Regions from separate parts of the Homo sapiens genome. Here regions 1 and 2 are each linked to region 3. Evidence: promoter capture Hi-C in 16 types of primary human blood cells and fetal thymus (Javierre and others, 2016). All regions are on one chromosome and are shown on one strand. The core of a region is centred on a gene start or on the middle of the fragment in contact, and the rest is flanking DNA. Distances in the headings are between cores, read along the strand shown. Region 1 overlaps DRAM1-AS1 (DRAM1 antisense RNA 1). Region 2 holds the start of DRAM1 (DNA damage regulated autophagy modulator 1). Region 3 holds the start of IGF1 (insulin like growth factor 1).

What was found. The method cuts DNA at HindIII sites, captures the fragments that hold promoters and counts their contacts. A CHiCAGO score of 5 or more calls a contact.
Region 1: a contact is called between a fragment that was not itself captured here and the fragment with the promoter of IGF1 in region 3, in 8 of 17 cell types (naive CD4 T cells, fetal thymus, total CD4 T cells and 5 more). The highest score is 14.4, in naive CD4 T cells.
Region 2: the fragment with the promoter of DRAM1 here is called in contact with the fragment with the promoter of IGF1 in region 3 in 2 of 17 cell types (naive CD8 T cells and total B cells); the score reaches 6.7 in naive CD8 T cells.

What each region holds. Positions count from the first base shown.
Region 1 is chr12:101,955,151-101,958,623 of GRCh38, forward strand. It overlaps DRAM1-AS1 (DRAM1 antisense RNA 1), which reads right to left. Exons shown (of 3, transcript XR_001749284.2): 3 at 286-740. Among named protein-coding and RNA genes, the nearest start is that of DRAM1-AS1, 7.4 kb to the right of the region's middle. The HindIII fragment of the contact is 7,048 bases long and covers 1-3,473 here.
Region 2 is chr12:101,875,645-101,879,263 of GRCh38, forward strand. It overlaps DRAM1 (DNA damage regulated autophagy modulator 1), which reads left to right and starts at 1,936. Exons shown (of 7, transcript NM_018370.3): 1 at 1,936-2,276. The coding sequence starts at 2,146. RefSeq lists enhancers at 1,340-2,122, 1,913-1,962, 2,123-2,904, 2,543-2,632, 2,773-2,822 and silencers at 1,573-1,732, 1,983-2,322. The HindIII fragment of the contact is 18,310 bases long and covers 1-3,619 here.
Region 3 is chr12:102,478,736-102,482,224 of GRCh38, forward strand. IGF1 (insulin like growth factor 1) reads right to left here and starts at 1,828. Exons shown (of 4, transcript NM_000618.5): 1 at 1,584-1,828. The coding sequence starts at 1,646. It overlaps LINC02456 (long intergenic non-protein coding RNA 2456), which reads left to right. Exons shown (of 13, transcript XR_007063427.1): 11 at 1-3,489. RefSeq lists enhancers at 284-543, 634-683. The HindIII fragment of the contact is 6,669 bases long and covers 1,085-3,489 here.

The DNA of each region.
Region 1 (3,473 bases), core at 95-2,594, 520 kb before region 3:
CCATGAGGTTTTTTGTTTGTTTGTTTGTTTATTTGTTTTCTGAACCTGGATCCTAAGAATAAAAACCAAGAGAGCTTCTCTGTCCTGCTGAGTAGAAGAGGTAGCCACTGGAGAGACCTTGGTACAGAGGAACCAGAGAAGGCATAGCTATATGCCCCAAATCACAGTTTGGGCAGAGTAGCCCAAGGAGAGTACACAGATTGGGCAGAGTAGCCCATCGTACCCCACTGTGCGAAGGAGAACCTAGAGACCATTCTTGGGAGGACTCTGGGAAGGTATGACGGTCATGTTGTTTCAGCCCAAACCTCAGGGCAGCCACGTGGCAGCTGTTAAGTGCTCTTTTGGAGGTAAATGTGTGAAACCAGGACTGTTCCAAGGGCAAAGAAAGTCCAGGATTCATCATTAAGATGGGTTTCCTGTGGTCCCTGAAGGCCTCAGCATCACAGGAGATTCCAGATCTGCTGCTCTGGGGATCCACATGAGGCGGGATGATGTGCCTGCTGAAATTAAAGGGACAGGGTGGTGGGAAAAGTCTCCATCCCAGGATGGCAGGCTTCCACAGCCACAGCAACTCATGACAGGCCTCACTGGGGGATGAGCAGAGCTGCGTCCTTTGGAGCCAGAGACATCAGGTCTCAGGTAGTGTGAAGGATCCTAGCCATGGAGTGGCCAGCCAGTAAACTGTGTTGGGCAGCAGAGGAGTAAGAAGCTGCATGTCCTTCCATGGGCAAGAAGAGGCACTGCAAGAGAAGGCAGAAAATGTGTTTCTGGGCATTGGGCAAGCCTTTTTTTATCTCTCCCTCAAATGGAACAGAATCCCAGGGTAGGATGGATCTGTGACCTCATGGTAACAGGTGGACCTAATAACTTGAAATACCAAGGATAAGGAAAGAGCCTGTTCTACTGAAGGTTCATATGGCCCAGTGGTCCCCAAGCATTTTGGCGCCCAGGGCCCAGTTTCATGGAAGACAATTTTTCCATGGACCAATGTGGGGGGAGGGGTGATTTCAGGATGATTCAAGCACGTTATATTTATTGTGCACTTTATTTCCATTATTATTACATTGCAATATATAATGAAATAATTATACAACTTACCATAATGTAGAATCAGTTGGAGCCCTGAGCTTGTTTTCCTACAACTAGATGGTCACCTCTGGGGCTGATGGGAGACAGTGACAGATCATCAAGCATTAGATTCTCATAAGGAGTTCGCAACCTAGAACCCTCACACGTACAGTTTGCAATAGGGTTTGCGGTCCTATGAGAATGTAATGCTGCTGCTAGTCTGACAGGAGGCAGAGCTCAGGCGGTAATGTGAGTGATGGAGAGTGGCTACAAACACAGATGAAGCCTCTGTCACTCACCTGCCACTCACCTTCTGCTGTGTGGCACAGTTCCTAACAGGCCACGGACCAGTACTGGTCCGTGACCTGGGGCTTGGGGACCCCAGATATGGCCCATCTCATACTATTACTATTACTAGTGCTACTACTATTACTGGCTAACGAGGCACTTTGCTAAAAGCTGTACAAGCATTTTTCCACTTAATCCTAGAAATAACCTTATGAAGTAAGTACCGCAATTTAGGAATCTGAAGCTGAGCAAGGCTGCAAAATTGTTCAAAATAAAATAGCTTGGAGTGGTCTAGCCTGGAACAGAACACAGTTACATTGGACTCCAGAGTCCACAAGCCTCAGCATTACTCTGTGTGCGTCTCAAATGTCTTAAGTAATTGATGCGGCCAAGATAGCTTCCCTCTGTGAGTGCCATGTGGCAGGAATTGTGTTTATTCTCTTCACCACTGTGGTCCCAATGCCGAGTACGGTGCTTTGTTCCCAATAGGTATTAGATATGTATTTGTGGAATAAAAACAGGGATGTGTGTGTAGCAGAAAACCATCAGTTTATACTGAGCTTCTTTCCTGAAGACAGTTATGAATCATATTCCCATACCAGGTCAAGGGATGGAAAACGTGATCATCAGGCTGTTTGTGCTTTTAACATTTCAGATTCAAAACAAGCATTGTTTTATGATGAAAATGAATTATCCTGACATTCTATCACATCTTATCAGACTCTTTTTTATTCAAAATGCTGTTGGTACTCTTACTTAATAAACTGGAGCAAGCAATAAATTCCACTGGTCTACAGAGACTGTGGTTGGGTTCCCAGTACCAAAATGATTTTGATTATTGAGTTGGCATATACCTCTAAACATTCCTAAATCAGTGGTTGGCAGCAGCAATATTCTGAAAGAAAGAGAAAAAGAAAAAACAGCGCGTGCGCATGCATACACATACACACACGCGCACACACACACGTGATAGCTTCAAAGCCTCTTACACATTAATGGATTCCTTATGGATTACATGGCTGTAATTGTGAAAGAGCACAAAGAACTAAAGGGAACCTTATTTCTTTAAACAAAAACATTTTTTAAAAGATGTTCCTTTTGAAAAGTCATTTGTTTTTTCTGAAGAGAGTAGGAAAAAAAAAGCTCCAACATAATGGAACTCTTAAAAATGTGTCAGGAACACAATAGAAAACCAGAATAAATGTAGGCAAGGCAACCACAGGAAGCCAGTCGCAGACTGAGTTCATTTGTACTCTAACAGCAGACATGGATGAAGAAAACAACCAGCAGGAGAGAGAGTAGTGAGAAGTGCCAGCTCATAGTAAGGGGGCCAGTAGGAAGGGAGACGGTGTGTGGTAGGGGGAGGGACATTCTAGAATTCAAAACAACAGACTATTCATATCATATTCTTAAAATCGGTGTAATGAAACCTGTTTATATTATCCTCAAATTAATTGTTCAATGTTCGAATGTCAGTGTCCCAGCCAATGACCCACCAACAATTTCCTTGGTCATTGCATTTTCTTTCCTTGGTCTTTCGAAAAAATAACGAATGAGTTTCTCTATTTATAAAGTTTCTCTGAAATGTCTTCTTATGTCATGGAGGCTGGGAGTTCATCTTGGGACACTGGATGTGATGGGGGGCCCTTGGCTGGGATCAGGAGGTTTTTGTGATTGTGAGGCAACTTCTGATCCCATTAGCTGACGGTTGACTGACATTTTGGAACAAGATTTTGCAAGATACGGGAAAGGAAAAAAAGGAGCATGGGAAGGAGGCACTTAAAAGATTGAGAAGGCAGGAATAAGCTGAGTGCTCCCAGATTTGAGGAGGATTTTATTGTTGGACACAGATCTCTGGTGAGCTTGCAGCCAGGATGTCGGAGGCCTGGTATGGGGGACCTAGTTTGGGTTTTCTTGTCAGCTTTGTACTGACCTTACCAAGCAAACTGGCTCTATGAGAAATGGGAGCCAGTTAATTTACCTTCCCATTTATAAGTTAGGTAGCAATGTATACACACATGAGGGGGCAGCCTTTCCTGGAGGGTTTAAGGTAATATTTGAGAGAAAATAAAAGGAAATACCACTTTAGATGCCTGGAAATTGCTTCCCAGAGAAGT
Region 2 (3,619 bases), core at 686-3,185, 600 kb before region 3:
GGTGACTTTGCCTCTTTGTTTCTCTCTCCATTTGCTGCCTCACACTTATTTAAGTGCTTTCATAGTCCCAGGGAAGCAAGCTCTGTGTATGCATTTCCTCCAGTTGTTTTCTGGGCCTGGAATGCTAATCTTATTTTTCTTTGCCTGGTTAGTAATTACTTCCTTTTGAAAACTCTGATGTCATCTGTCAGAAAACCTCCGTGGTCCTTCCTCTGAGCCCAGGCCCCTGGCCCTCAGCTCTGGGCATGTCTCTACTTTTTAAAATCCTCTCCTTTCCATTTAATAAACCACATAACATAATTTTGTTTTTATTTATTTATATTTTTGAGACAGAGTCTCGTTCTCTCACCCAGGCTGAAATGCAGTGGTGTGATCTCAGCTCACTGAGAAAACCTCCATTTCCCAGGTTCAAGCGATTCTCCTGCCTCAGCCTCCTGAGTAGCTGGGATTACAGGCGTGAGCCATGATGCCTGACTAATTTTTTGTATTTTTAGTAGAGATGGGGTTTCACCATGTTGGCCAGGCTGGTCTCGAACTCCTGACCTCAGGTGATCCACCCACCTTGGCCTCCCAAAGTGCTAGGATTACAGGCATGAGCCACCACGCCTGGCCTAATTTTGTTATTTTGATCTATGAGTGTCCTCGTCCTGAGGGTACTATTACTATTTCATCTTTGTAGCCTAGCATGGCGCCCATGAAATGTGTTTGTGGCTGAAAGGAACCTATCTTTGGTCACCAATGACCCAACAATTTTGGCCACATATGTTGGGCTCAGACTCCCTAAACTATCAAAATCATGTGCTTATATTATAAGTGCCTCCAGAACACAAATCCCTTTCACAGGGCTTGAAATGTATCAAGTCACTATTAATCATCTTAGGCCAAGGCTCCGAGTCTGGGCTACTCCAGAACCTGGAGGGGAGTTTTTTTTGTTTTTTTTTTGTTTGTTTGTTTTTTGAGACAAGGTCTTGCTCTGTCACCCAGGCCGAGTGAAGTGGTGTGATAAAGGCTCACTGCAGCCTCGACCCCCAAGGCTCAAGTGATCATCCCAACTCAGTCTCCCGAGTAACTGGAACCGGCTTTTTTTCTTTTTCATTTTTTTTTTTTTTTTTTGTAGAAGAGGGGTTTCGCTATGTTACCCAGGCTGATCTCTAGTTCTTGGGTTCAAGCGATCCTCCCAACTCGGCCTCCCAAAGTGGTGGCATTCCAGGGGTGATGGCTTTTGGATGCCTCCCAAAGTGATGGCTATTCACGGCGCCCGGCCTGGGAAATCTTATTTCCAGGAAATATTCTCCAGTTGCGCTCTCCTGGAAAGCAGCACAATGGGCCTCCCGGCTCCGTGGGCGCGCAGTCCCACCCGCCTGCCCCGCACCCCACCCGCGTACTCTCCACCCCACCCGTTCCCACCCTGTCTGGGTTTTCGGGTGTTCACCATTGAGGTGGGAGCCACATCTGCGCCCCGTGACCTGGCGAACCTCATTGAACACTTCTGCCCGACCCCCGCAGCAGCAGCGCGACCGGATGGCATGGGTGTCACCACGCGGTGGCCACTCTCACTGCTGCGAAGCGCCGGCGGCGGGACCTCGGAGGGGGCGCCCTCGGGGTGCGAGGCCCGGCACTCCGGAAATCCCCCGGGAGGGAGGGGTTGGGAGAAATAAATCCTTTTCTCCAGAGTTGCGCAAGAGCCAGCGCGGTAGGGCCAGAGTGGGAAGGCCAGAGCGGGCGTCCCCGCCAGTGACCCCACGCCGCCCGTCCGCGCCCAACCCGGCCTCCGCCGAGTGTCCAAACCAAAAGCGAAAGGAACCCGACCCCGCGTCCCCTCCGGCGGCTCCGTAGTCGCGTCCGCTTGGAGCTCGCCGGGCGCCTCCGACCCTGCCGGGCCGCTTTGTGACTTCACTCGTTTCGCAACAAGCCCGGGCAGCCCGCGCCCCACCCACTCTGGCCCGGCAGCCTCGCCGCCCGCAGCCTCGCTCCGCTCCTCGCGCTTCCCCTCCCTCCGGGGCTGGGCCTGCCCCGGCCGTCGCGGAGCCTCCCCTCCCACCGTCCGTGAGTGTACGCGCCCGGCCGCCGCCTCCAGGCAGCCCGGAGCAACCCGGCGCCCGGCCCCGCTGGGCGCAGCACTCCGTCGGCGGCGGCGGCGGCGCGATGCTGTGCTTCCTGAGGGGAATGGCTTTCGTCCCCTTCCTCTTGGTGACCTGGTCGTCAGCCGCCTTCATTATCTCCTACGTGGTCGCCGTGCTCTCCGGGCACGTCAACCCCTTCCTCCCGTATATCAGGTGAGTGGCAGGGTGGGCGTCAGGGCCCCAGGAGCAGGCACAGGGACCACAGGGAGCGCTGCCGACGGGGAGGGAAGGCGTCCGGACCCAGCTTGGGGCGTCGTGTGGTCAGGCAGAGGTGGGAGCAGGAGGAGAGGTGCTCCCGATAGCCTGGGATGTTTAGGGAGGCAGCGGGTGCGGCGCTGAGCACTTCTGCCTGTACCCGGAGCATGGAACAGGGTGGCAGCAAGGAGAGGTTCAGGATAGATGGTAGAGCTTTCATTCTGGGTATGGGACAGAATCTCAGCAGGACGTTCTTAGGCGATATTGAAACAAGATGGGTTCTGATAGATGACATATATTATACAAGAGGTAGATCCAGGTATATGCTAAACAGCCACTATTTTCACTTCTGCATCCCAACATCCCTTGAAGTGGATGTTTGGGCTTATTATTCCCGCAAGCGAGCGGTGGTGTAAAGTTGATGAAATATCATCAACGTGACACTGATGTCACACTAGTTAATGGTAGGAGCAGAATTCACACCCGGCCATGCAGAAAGCAACACTGTGCTGCCCCCAGGTCTCTGGGAGTCTGGCTTAAATTCTCTGGAGCTGCACCAGACACCTCTGGGCACTGTGACCCCAAAGTCCTCAACTTGTCAACAACTTGTGACATCTTTTGTGTTATTTTACCCATTCACTTTTCCTGTGCTTTGGCCTCTACCTTCCTGAGGGGCACTTCAGTGCCAGGGACAGTGGTCTGATCCTCCTATGTGGGTTCCAGCTCAGTGCCTTTCTCATAGTGGCAGGATTCTTTAAACGTTAGAACCATCCATCCTTATCTAAGTAGTGTGACCCCTCTGGACAGGCATTGGTTGGTGAACGGATGATAAGGTTGGTGACACCCAAGGTTTGTTACTGCTATGATAGAAAATGTAGGGCGTCTTCTTCCCTGCAGCCATTCTGTCTGGTGAGCAATGTTCTGTGTTTTTTTGTTTGTTTGTTTGTTTTTTTCCTTTTTTTGGGGGTGGGGGTGAGGAGTGTGGAGAAAGGGGAAACAAAGATCGAGCAAGAGGGGACTAGCATTTTTTAAAATTTTTTTTATTTTTTTGAGACAGAGTCTTGTTCTGTCGCCCAGGCTGGAGTGCAGTGACACAATCTCGGCTCACCGCAACCTCTGCCTCCCGGGTTCAAGCGATTCTCCTGCCTCAGCCTCCCAAGTAGCTGAGATTACAGGCGTGCACCACCACACCTGGCTTAATTTTTTTGTATTTTTAGTAGAGACAGGGTTTCACTATGTTGGTCAGGCTGGTCTCAAATTCCTGACCTCAAGTGATCCTCTTGCCTTGGCCTCCCAAAATG
Region 3 (3,489 bases), core at 578-3,077:
CCAGTCAAGCCACCTATTTCCATTGTATGCCTATTGTAGCAGCCCAGATAGTGACCCAAGCTCCAGTCCACTCCCTTACTCCCTTCCCCCGACTCACTCACTTGGAAATACCTTGAGAGTCAGAGTACAATCAGCTGGTGAGCTCTGCCTCTGGGCAGGACACCTTTACCCACTGAATTACATGTGAAAGACCACGCAGCTCCCTCAAACCACTTCCTGCTTCAAGTACAGAAAAAAGTAACAACTTATTAAGAGCTCCACTTCTGAAGTGTTCAGCATACACAGCATGAAAAGTGCATTTGGAAACAATTTTCTTAACTTGTAATTAATGCAGAGATAACGCTCCACAGCCTCTTTTATGATCCCCTAAGTAAGGAGACAAAAACTCCAGCTGCTAGATCACATAGTATGTATGCACAGTGACGTCATTTCTTTGAAAGCAAGGTGGCCTGCATGTGTTGGCATCTCAGGAACAGCAGAATCAGGTGCCTGACAAGGGTGTATCTTTAACTCCTGGAGCCACTTACTTGACTAGGGAAAGTCGTAGTGGTGAAGTGTTTGAAAGCAGCAACTGAATGCTGCACTAAGTGGCAGAGACGTCTTATGAATTGAGCCCTCAGGCAATTGAATCGGTGGAGCCAGTGACAGCAGCTTAAAAGCGCTTGCAAATTGAAAAAAAAACACAAGTCTTGAAGGATATAATTTTGCTGAGAATGGAAACTAGAACTACGGCCAGCAATCGGAAACGAGAAGTCGGTGCACTGACAGCAGCAGCCAGATTTACCTAAAGGGACTTCACGACACTGAATATAAAATCAGAGTTTTATAACACAGAACCCCAAGTCCAAACTTTGCCCATGAAAGTCCTCTTCTAAACAGAAAAGTTGGGCAAGCAGCTCTTAGAAAGTTTCTGCTTTCCATATACAGTATGTATTTGTTTAAATTATACAAATATGCAAGGTCAGCAAGAGTTGTCAAGGAGTTCTTTTTTGGAAGAACAAATTACACTTTACTCTAACTTTAACACTCTCTCTGGGCATAAGTGCAGAGTTCCGGGACCTTAGCTCCAAAGATCATATTTAAAAGCTTTAATATCATCTAAAATACAACCCTTCATATATAGCATGCCTTGTAAATAAAGTCCTGATGAGTTACACACACAGAGACACATACACACAGAGACACATACACACATGCAAAAGAACATGGTCTTAAAAATAAAACATCTGCACCTGCAAAAGAAAAAAAAAATCCCCAAGTTCATATCCATGCTCTATAGCCCTTAGCCATAGAGAGGATTTAAAGGAATCTTCTGTAATGACACCACGGAAGCCCTGCAGAAGTGGAGGATTTAGCATAAGTACCTTGCAATAGTTTCTACTCATACAGATATCTGTGCAAATGCATCCATCTCCCCGAGCTATTTTTCAGATTCCACAGAATTGCATATTCAGCAATTTATAAATAACTCTCGGTTCCGAAACAATGAAAATTTTAAAGTGAAGAACAGTTCTAGGCAGAAGCAAACAGTACACAATTTAAATAGAATTCCCCAATGACTTCAAAGAGTAAGAAATATTTACCTTCAAGAAATCACAAAAGCAGCACTTAAATAATTGGGTTGGAAGACTGCTGATTTTTCCCATTGCTTCTGAAGTACAAAGTCTGAAAATGAATTGGTTAGCAGGAATAATGAAGCAAAAAGAAATCCAGAGAGATGGGAGATGTTGAGAGCAATGTCACATTTCAATTTTGAGGACTTTATTCCATTGCGCAGGCTCTATCTGCTCTGAATTTAGCAGTGACAGTGAGATTTAGCAAACAGAAGAGGGATTTAGAGAAAATCCTCACATTTATCTACAAAACACAGACACTGTAGACAGGAAACAGCTGGGGGAACATTTGCCTTCTCTCTCTCTCCCTCTTCTGGCAAAGTTATTGAGTAAGGACTTTTTTGGGCATGGTGACAAATAACATCATACCTTTGCATTTTAAAACTAGAGCACAGAAGCATTTTTTTCCCTTAAAAGAATGTGTGTTAGTGACAGGGTTCGCAGACATTAAAATACTTATGCTGCCATAGAAAATAAGGATCTGTTTTCTGATTAACTTTCTGCTGGGCATGAAGACACAAACGTCTGCTAATACACCTTACCAGTATTAAAGGAATATGGGGGATGGGAGAGCAATTTTAGATTCTAGAGCAAATGCATTATTTAAAACAAAAAAAGAAAGAAAGGACGATAAGACCCTCTCCAGCAAACTCTACAATTTTAACCCTGAAGTGACTGGGGTAAAGTAGATTGGAAGACAGCACTCGGGTGACCCCTTGTCCCAGTTGCCAAGTGAGAGGTGTGATCTCATTTCCTAGAACCTATGGAGGGGCAGGCAGCATTGGATTGGTCCCTTTAGGGCACTGTCTCATACTTTTTCTCCTGCGATGAGGCAAAGACTATGCCGAGCTGTAAAACCCAACTGAAATAGAACATTTTTCTTTATTCTTCTACTAGGCTGCCTGTCACTGTCCCCTCCCCACCCCACCACTCTGGGAGAAGGGTACCTGGGGGGCAAACAATTTTCCTGTTGTTTGAATTTTCCATATAACTCAAACCTGTGTGTGTGTGTGTGTGTGTGTGTGTGTGTGTGTGTGTGTATGACAGAGGGAGTCTGTGTGCCAGAGTGTGTTTTCTTTCTCTGATTTTTGTGTATTCTAAATAACACCAGCTGGCTAGCAATACCCTCTCGAGGGTTATGATGTCATTCAAATCCCTCAACTGGGTGACTGGCCGGCAACATGGTCCAAGCCAGCTGTTTTGCTATTTATAATGTACACTTGCCTTTGCCATTGAGAATTCAGTTCTGATCTTTTGTCGATACAGTTTGTACCTATTTCCCTTTGGTTTTGTGAAGCAGTAGATAAGAAAGTGAATTATAAAATAAGGTTGCAAAAGCCCAGAGCAGACATACCTCTTTCCCTAGAGAGCTCTCCAGGCCTGGTTTCCCAGGAGTGGTGGAAATAACCTGGACCTTGAATTTTTTCTTTTTTTTTTTTTCCACATGACTCTCAGGGGACTGACACATCAACTGAAAACACAGTTCTGCTTGAAATCCTACTCTGGCTCTTTGTGTTATCCTGGGGCCAGAAATTTGTTTGTAGAAGTGGGTGCCCTAACAAAAAACAAACAAACCTGCTTTGTTTGGAAGGGGGTTGGGTTTGTTTGAGTCTTCTGTGTGGTTAATACATTGTAGCAATGTTTACCTTTCAGAAATCAAAGTTAGAAATCTGGAATTATGTTGTGTCAATGGTGCACTATGTTCAGCAACATTTTGTGAGCTCTACTATGTGCCCAACTACAACATCCCTAGGAAAACAAAGAGGAATAAGATATGGTCAAGTCCCTTCAGGGGCTTTCAGCTGAATGTCAGAGACAAAGAGGAAAACTTCACAGTCATATGATGGGCATGTGCTCTTTTAAAAACATGAACAGT